2 separate regions of the Homo sapiens genome follow, and region 2 is linked to region 1. Evidence: promoter capture Hi-C in human tissues and cell types (Jung and others, 2019). All regions are on one chromosome and are shown on one strand. The core of a region is centred on a gene start or on the middle of the fragment in contact, and the rest is flanking DNA. Distances in the headings are between cores, read along the strand shown.

Evidence for each region. Contacts are between HindIII fragments. The study calls those that stand out against the background at their distance.
Region 2: a contact is called between a fragment that was not itself captured here and the fragment with the promoter of DIABLO in region 1, in 6 of the 25 tissues and cell types used here (IMR-90 fibroblasts, adrenal gland, aorta and 3 more).

What each region holds. Positions count from the first base shown.
Region 1 is chr12:122,224,489-122,228,379 of GRCh38, forward strand. It overlaps DIABLO (diablo IAP-binding mitochondrial protein), which reads right to left and starts at 1,564. Exons shown (of 6, transcript NM_001371333.1): 1 at 1,477-1,564; 2 at 24-156. The coding sequence starts at 1,526. It overlaps LOC128125816, which reads right to left and starts at 2,076. Exons shown (of 1, transcript NM_001414998.1): 1 at 1,942-2,076. The coding sequence starts at 2,076. The coding sequence ends at 1,942. It overlaps LOC101593348 (a long non-coding RNA gene), which reads left to right and starts at 1,954. Exons shown (of 1, transcript NR_103497.1): 1 at 1,954-3,891. RefSeq lists enhancers at 1-871, 1,281-1,330, 1,341-1,580, 1,634-1,928, 1,878-2,709 and 1 more and a silencer at 1,871-2,010. The HindIII fragment of the contact is 13,255 bases long and covers 1-3,891 here.
Region 2 is chr12:122,505,075-122,509,060 of GRCh38, forward strand. RSRC2 (arginine and serine rich coiled-coil 2) reads right to left here. Exons shown (of 10, transcript NM_023012.6): 8 at 3,144-3,373; 9 at 1,760-1,849; 10 at 1-632. The coding sequence ends at 453. Among named protein-coding and RNA genes, the nearest start is that of ZCCHC8, 6.1 kb to the left of the region's middle. The HindIII fragment of the contact is 4,115 bases long and covers 509-3,986 here.

The sequences.
Region 1 (3,891 bases), core at 314-2,813:
AGAATCACTGCACACGACAGTACCTGTGCAATAGGAACCGCACACAGGGTTACTCCAAAGCCAATCGTCACAGTTTTGTGCCATGGTCTTATCAATTCTGAGAAACACCGCTTCTTAAAGTTAGCCACAACAGGAACACACAAACACTGTCTGTACCTGGAAGTAGAAGTCAGATTTCATAAGGCACGACCGCCAATCTGTAACAGGCTCTTGGATTTACTTGCAGGGGCTGTAAACTCAAACTCGAGCCAAGCAGGAACCTAAATGAGGATGCAGGACAGCTGAGGGGTTTTGAAATTTTCAACATACACCAAGTTTAAAATGTTGCCTCAGGCAGGGTGTTGGTGGCTCACGCCTGTAATCCTAGCACTTGGAAGGCCAAGGGCAAGGCGGGAGGATCACTTGAGCCCAGGAGTTCACGACCAGCCTGGGCAACATGGCTGGCAACATGACCCCGTGTCTATTAAAAAAAAATAAGTAAATAAAGGCCGAGGCGGGTGGATCACTTGAGGTCAGGAATTCGAAATCTGCCTGACCAACATGGTGAAACCCCATCTCTACTTAAAACACAAAAATTAGCCCGGAGTGGTGGCACGCTCCTGTAATCCCAGCTACTCGGGAGGCTGAGGCAGGAGAATCGCTTGAACCTGGGAGGCAGAGGTTGCAGTGAGCCGAGAGCGCCCCACTGCACTTCAGCCTGGGCAACAGAGCGAGACTGAGTCTCAAACAAAACAAAAAGAAAAAAAAAAATTAGCCGGGCGTGGTGGCGGGCGCCTGCAATCCCAGCTACTCGGGAGGCTGAGGCTGAGAATCGCTTGAAGCCGGGAGGCACAGGTTGCAGTGAGCTGAGATCTCGCCACTGCACTCCAGCCTGGGCGACAGAGGCAGATCTTGTCTCAAAAAAATTAAAATAAAATAAAATGTTGCCTTTAAACTTTTTAGAAACGGATGCCACAATAACCGCTCCTGCAGGCAGAATTTAGCTCTGGACCCCTGGCCTGGGTGCCAGTTGTGTGTGACGGTCCCGCTACAATCGCCCAGGAGCCTGCAGCGCTAGGTAGAGAGCCCTGCGCCAGCTCCCCCGGCCCCTTCTGCCCTCGGGAGGACGTCTTCAGACGCTCGTCTCCCTTCCCGGACTCCCCCCATGCCGTGTCCCTCCTCCTCTCCACGTCTCCTCAGGGACTTCGAGTGGCTGACGAGGGCTGGTCAGGAGGCGGAGCAGCCCCAAGAAGGCAGCCCGGGGTCTCGGGGACTCGTTTCTAGAAGATGGACGAACTGAAAAGGAAGCCGGGCTTGACCCAGGGGGCGGAGGCGGGGCTGTCCTCAGTCCTCCCGACCGGAGCGAGACGCCGCGACCCAGCTGGGCGGACGAGAGATGAGCGCGTAAGGAAGGCGGGCGCCGTGGGCCGGGCCACAGCGCTGTCCGCGTCGGTCCCTCCCTCTGGTCCTGTCCCCTCTACGCGGCCGCAGCGGTACCTGAAGAATGAAGTTACGCTGCGCGACAGCCAACTCTTCAGAGCCGCCATTGTGCAGCGCGCGGACGCCAGACGCACACGCCGGAAGTGACGCAGCTTCGTGAGCGCGGAGCGGGGCACGGCCTCCACCTGAGAGCGCCTCGCCCCATAGCCACGCCCCCACCCAAGGAAGCAGTCGGGATTGGGCAGGCAGGGGGAAAGGGGGCGAGGCTTAGGGCAAAGGCTGTAACGGCCGCGCAAGGCAACCAACCGCCGGAACTTCCGCGCGGGGCGGGGCATATGCAGGGCCTGAGGGCGCGGAGGTGGGTCCGGCGCGGAGCTGAGTCGGGCGCCGTGACGCTGGCGGGTGGGCGGGGACTCAGTTCGGGCCAGGGCTTGAAGGGAATTTCCTGGTGAGTTAGGGAGGCGGGGCCGGGCGGGAGGCGGGGCCGGGCGGGAGGCGGGGCCGGGCGCGGCGACGGCGCTGTCACTTCAGCACCAGGAAGTAAGTGGTCCAGCCGGCCAGCAGCAGCGCCCCGATGAGCACCGTGTAGCTGAGGAGCACGAAGGCGAGCAGCTCCCGCAGCAGCTGCAGCACGTGGACGGTGGACGAGGCCGGCATCGCGCTGCGCGGGAGCCCCAGGACGGTCGGCGGCCTGCCGGGCTGGCGCCGTCCCAGAGGGGCGGACGGGAACACACGAGGTCCTGGCCCTCGAAACAGCAAACGAAGGCCAGGAAGCCCACAGTGCCGACCTCCCCAACAGCCTCCTGGACGCTCGCTTCTCGGTTACACTGGAGAATCCTTCTCAACCCAAACTGCCCTCGTTCTTCGGCTCTGATCCGGGCTGAGGAGGCAGAAGCCCGGCTCTTCCCCGCGCCCCGCAGCTGCATGAGTTTTCCTCCCTGGCCCGCTCCTCCCACCACCTCCTGCATTTTTAATGCTGTGAGTGCCGCTAATGCGCTGGTGGAGTAAACCTTTCTTTTCCCGTCACTCAAGCTGCAGCCCCAGCTGCGGCCCTGGCTGGAAGGGGAAGGGGAGAGAGACCCATTTGGGCAGGAGGAAGGCACAGGCCCAAACCTGCTCTTCTGTGAGTCCCCTGGCCCCAAGGCTTGCCAGCAGCAGAGCTGGAGGATCTTTGCTTTGTGGTCCAGCATGCTTGCCTTCTGGCCAGCTGGGACTGCAGGGTGCCAGGTGGTGGGTGGGCATCAATCCGATCCTGGGCTCACCCCCGCCACCGTGCTCTGTGCATCTGCCCCAGCCCTGCTAACTTCCACCAGAGACGACATCAGACAGTAAGAACCCCACACCAGCTCATCAGACAGTAGGAACCCTACAACACCTCCAATGCTGCTTTGCCCAGCCACTCCCCACAGTGTCAGGCACTGGCTTCCTTCTCTCCCCACCTCACTTACTTGGCAAAGTTTCCACGAATCTTCCACCCTGAAGCTCCGCGGTTCTGTCTGCTCTGGTGCCCAAAGGTAGCTTGTGTGTATTCTGCGATCTCGGCAGAACTGAGATTTTCAAGCAGCGGCACTCAACAACTAGGTGTGGTCTAGAGACCAATTACAACCTCCGCGTGGTCCCCGAGCTCTCAGGGAGCTGCGCACAGGCGTTCCTAGCCCAGGCGGGGCGCTGGCAACCCTGCCCGCCCTCTGCCTGTGTCGCCACCACAGCCCACAGGGCTCAGATGTGGTTTCACAGACCCAGATGGGCTGAGCAGGCGGCACACTAGTGGGTATTTCAAGCCCCTTCTTGTTTTTTTCTGAACATTGTAAGGGGTTATGGGGTTATAGTGCGAACAGTTTCGTTTCTAACAAACACATTGAGAGCAGTCCCATCTCCTCCGAGTCTGGGCACCAGAAGAACCACTGGACAGTGTTCACTTGCGACCGCCCAACTACTAAAGCAAAAGCTGTTGTCTTAAAAAACATGCAAGTGCAAGCATGCACGGGTGTGAGAACCAAGCTTAAGTGACCGAGATCTCCTGAGTGCTTGATTCCGATTTACAAAGAGTTTTGCAGCTTACAGACTCATTATACAGATACTTTCCCAATGTGACACTTCCAATTTCACCTCCTCACAATGTGAGGCAAAAGGAGCCAGTGAGGATTTCTGCAAAGAACAGACACTTTCCCAGATGCAACAACAAAGGAAACGAAAGCATAAACTATGCTGCTTCTGATTATTTTGCTCGTTGCCGTAGTTTTTAGTTCAAGACTGTTTTCTGACCTTTGAAAAGAGCAGGCAGTGTGGACATCAACCCTTTTATCAACATCATCATCCAGAAGCAAATGGCTCCTTAATTTAATCAGGATCTCTTATTATCAAATTATTGCCTTGGCCACAGTGAGGCTGAAAACAGGAGCAGAACATTATCAAGCTGCTCAGGAAGCCAGTGAGTAGTAATTACTCCCCCAGAGAACTGGTCATCTTCCG
Region 2 (3,986 bases), core at 1,316-3,815, 280 kb after region 1:
TTATCATTACCACCCAGCTTATCTGTGCTGGATTATGTACCAAATGGCCAGATCTTCTAAAGAACATCTACATAACATTTCTTTCATGTTTCAAGAGATGAAAATAACTGTACAAGGTTAAGTACAAAAGTACACAAGACAGCGGACACGAAAAAATCCATGTATGAGATTTTATCCCCACCTGCAGCTTTTATATATTTGAAAAGTAGAATTCATGAACTAAAAAATATTATCCTTCTATAGTCCTGTCAAGTTTAATGGAAGTGGGTTTAACCTGATTACAACACTAACACCAGTATCACTGATCTGATATTTACAAAAATTTGTATTTTTCAATAAATTAAAGTCAATGCAACACCCATGCAAGCTAGAGTGCTAGCTGTTTGGTGAACAAGGACGTGACATCAGAACAAGAAGTCTATAAGTCCCAAACTTTACAAGTGTGATCATTTTCAAACTGCATCCATTCCTCGCATTGAAGATGTGAAACCCAAACCCATTCCTCTTTGTGTGTGGGTTTGTGATCTTGCCATTTCATACTGAGCATCTAAATTTCGAAATACTTCTTCCTGCTGCTTCAGAGTCTTGTAACTTTCTTCATCAACTGAGCTACATCCAGCTTCATCTTCACTCTAAAAATCAGACATAAAACATTACAATGAATTCAGATGGAGATAAATATTCTCTCACTTGACACTATTTTTTATGTATTTTTTTTTTTTGAGATGGAGTCTTGCTCTGTTGTCCCGTCTGGAGTGCAGTGGTGCCATCTCGGCTCACTGCAACCTCTGCCTCCTGGGTTTAAGTAATTCTTATGCCTCAGCCTCCCAAATAGCTGGGATTAGAGGCACATGCCACCACGCCCAGCTAATTTTTGTATTTTCAGTAGAGACGGGGTTTCACCACATTGGTCAGGCTGGTCTCGAACTCCTGACCTCAGGGATCCCCCCTGCCGCCTGCCCCCCGGCCTCCCGAAGTGTTGGGATTACAGGTGTGAACTAGGCTGACACTATTAAATTATACTTTTGGCCGGGTGCAGTGTGGCTCACGCCTGTAATCCCAGCACTTTGGGAGGCTGAGACGGGTGGATCACCTGAGGTCAGGATTTCGAGACTAGCCTGGCCAACATGGTGAAACCCCGTCTATACTAAAAACAAAAAACAAACAAACAAAAATATACTTTTGGGATATGTATTTGATCTCAATAACTTAATTTCCATTCATTATTGAACACCTCCAAAGGACAAGGCAATGTTCTTTCTAGGTCTGGAATATAGCAGGGTGTAACAAAAGTTAACTTCAGTTTAGTAGGTTGGAAAAAACATAATATGTAGAAGATGTCAGGGTATAAATGCCACAGAGGAAAGTAAAGTAGAAAATGGGGATGGAGGCTGGGCGCAGTGGCTCAGAACTGTGATCCAGGGCTTTGAGAGGCCGAGGTGGAAGGACTGCTTGAGCCTCGAAGTTTAAGGCTGCAGTGAGGTATGACTGCACCACTGTACTCCAGCCCAAGTGACAGAGCAAGCAGAGCAAAACCCCGTCTCTCTCTCTCTCTCCAAGTGTGTGTGTAGGGAGGACAGTGGGTAGGGGAGATGGAAATGTTTCAGAATGGGATTGCTTGTTATTTCACAAAAGGTGGTGGGAAAGAACTCAAAAACGCTGACACCTGAGTAAAGACCAGAACTAAGAAAATGAGGGAAGAACAGTGCAGGAGGGCTAATAGCTAATACAAAGATCCCCTGGCACATGTGAAACTCACCTTAATACCCATCAATTTCCTAAATTTGACATTTTGGTCCTTGTTTCCAAAATTCAATTTTTCCCATATTTCAGCAGATTGGGATTTGTCCTGTTAACAAACACTGAACTTTAAAATATGTAAAATTTAAATATTTTTTAGGACATGAAATCTCTCAACAATGTCTAAATTAAAAAAAAAAACACCATGGATAGCATTCAATCAATGTAAGTTTAATTATTTCAAGACTTAAGAAACCACAAAGCAAAGAAATACAAGCAAGAGGTTGGCGCCGTGCTTCACTCCTATAATCCCAGCACTTTGGAAGGCCGAGGTGGGCAAATCACCTGAGGTCAGGGGATCGAGACTAGCCTGGATGACTAGGTGAAACCCCGTCTCTACTAAAAATACAAAAAACTAGCCTGGCATGGTGGTGGGCACCTGTAGACCCAGGAGGGTCTCAGGAGTCTGAGGCAGGAGAATTGCTTGAACCTGGGAGGCAGAGGTTGCAGTGAGCTGAGATCACACCACTGCATTCCAGCCTGGGTGACAAGAGCAAGACTCTGTCTCAAAAATAATAAAAATAAAATAAAAAAATGGATTATTTTCCTGTCATAGACCTTTTTCAACATGCAATTTTTGCGACTGCATGTCATTTGCATTTAATGTCATTTGTCATTGCAAATAATGTCAAAAAAAAAAAAGTACCTCATAATCTATGAAAAATTCTAAACCAAGTAGCCTCTTTTCCTTACTACTTCTATGGTAATATTAGTTTTCTTTGAAAGCTTGACTTCAATCAATTATGTTTTATTTTAGTATTAATAACTGGCAAATAAGACTATCATAGCTTATTATAAGTTTTTTGAGACAGGGTCTCACCCAGGCTGAAGTGCAGTGGCGTGATTTTTTTTTTTTTTTTCCAGATGGAGTTTCGCTGGAAACTCACTGCAACCTCCGCCTCCCAGGATCAAGTGATTCTCCTGTTTCAGCCTCCCAAGTAGCTGGGATTACAGGTGCCCACCACCATGCCTGGCTAAGTGGCATGATCTTGGCTCACTGTATGTAGGCTCTGCATCCCAGGCTCAAGCGATTCTCCTGCCTCAGCCTCCCAAGCACCTGGGATTACAGGTGTGTGCCACCACACCCAGCTGATTTTTATCTTCTTTTCAGTAGAGACAGGGTTTTGCCATGTTGGCCAGGCTGGTCTTGGACTCCTTACCTCAACTGATCCGCTCACTTGGCATCCCAAAGTGCTGGGATTAAAGGCATAAGCCACCCGCGTCTGGCCACCCCAGGTTCTTACAAAGTTAAGCCGAAAGTAATATTTTTCAACCCAAATTTGTTTTTCTAAGCAATTACTAATTAGGAATAAACGACAGAAAAGCAGAATAAGAGAACTTACCCCTTCTTTCTTGCCCTGCCAAAGCATTTTCCTTTTTTTCTCTTGTTCAGCAAATTTCATTGGATTAACAGCGGCTGGGTTATAGTAGCTAGGAACAGCTATTCCTGTCTCTGCCAAAGCTTTAGCTTGCAGGGCTGCCATCTGAGCTGCCATGGCTATCTGAGGTGTTACTTGTGTTCCTGATGCCAACAGGGCAGCAACATTGAGAACAGAACCTCCAGTAGCTGCAGCTGCTTGAAGAGAATACAAAAATGGATTTTAAAACGATTTTAAAACATAAACCTCCTGATTTACATTAACGAACGATTTATAAAAAGCTATGAATGTGCAAAAAGGCAGGATTTTCACCAAATCCAAGGAAATGACTGAGTATTAGCTCACAAGTTTTTAGCAAACATTTATTGTGTTCATCAACGGACATATTTCTACATAAACCCTTGATATATAAACCATTTATTGCAAGGCGCAGTGGCTCACGCCTGTAATCCCAGCACTTTGGGAGGCTGAGGTGGGCGGATCACCTGAGGTTGGGAGTTCGAGACCAGCCTGACCAACATGGAGAAACCCCGTCTCTACCAAAAATACAAAATTAGCCGGGCGTGGTGGTACATGCCCGTAATCTCAGCTACTCGGGAGGCTGACGCAGGAGAATCACTTGAACCCAAAAGGCGAAGGTTGCAGTGAGTCGAGATCATGCCACTGCACTCCAGCCTGGGCAACAAGAGCGAAACTCCGTATCAAAACAAAAAAAAAACCCATTTATTTACTTTGAGGATAGAGAATTCTGCAAATAGTAAGAAAGTATGATTTCAGTGGAGATGAACTATAGTGTTTCTAAGGTAT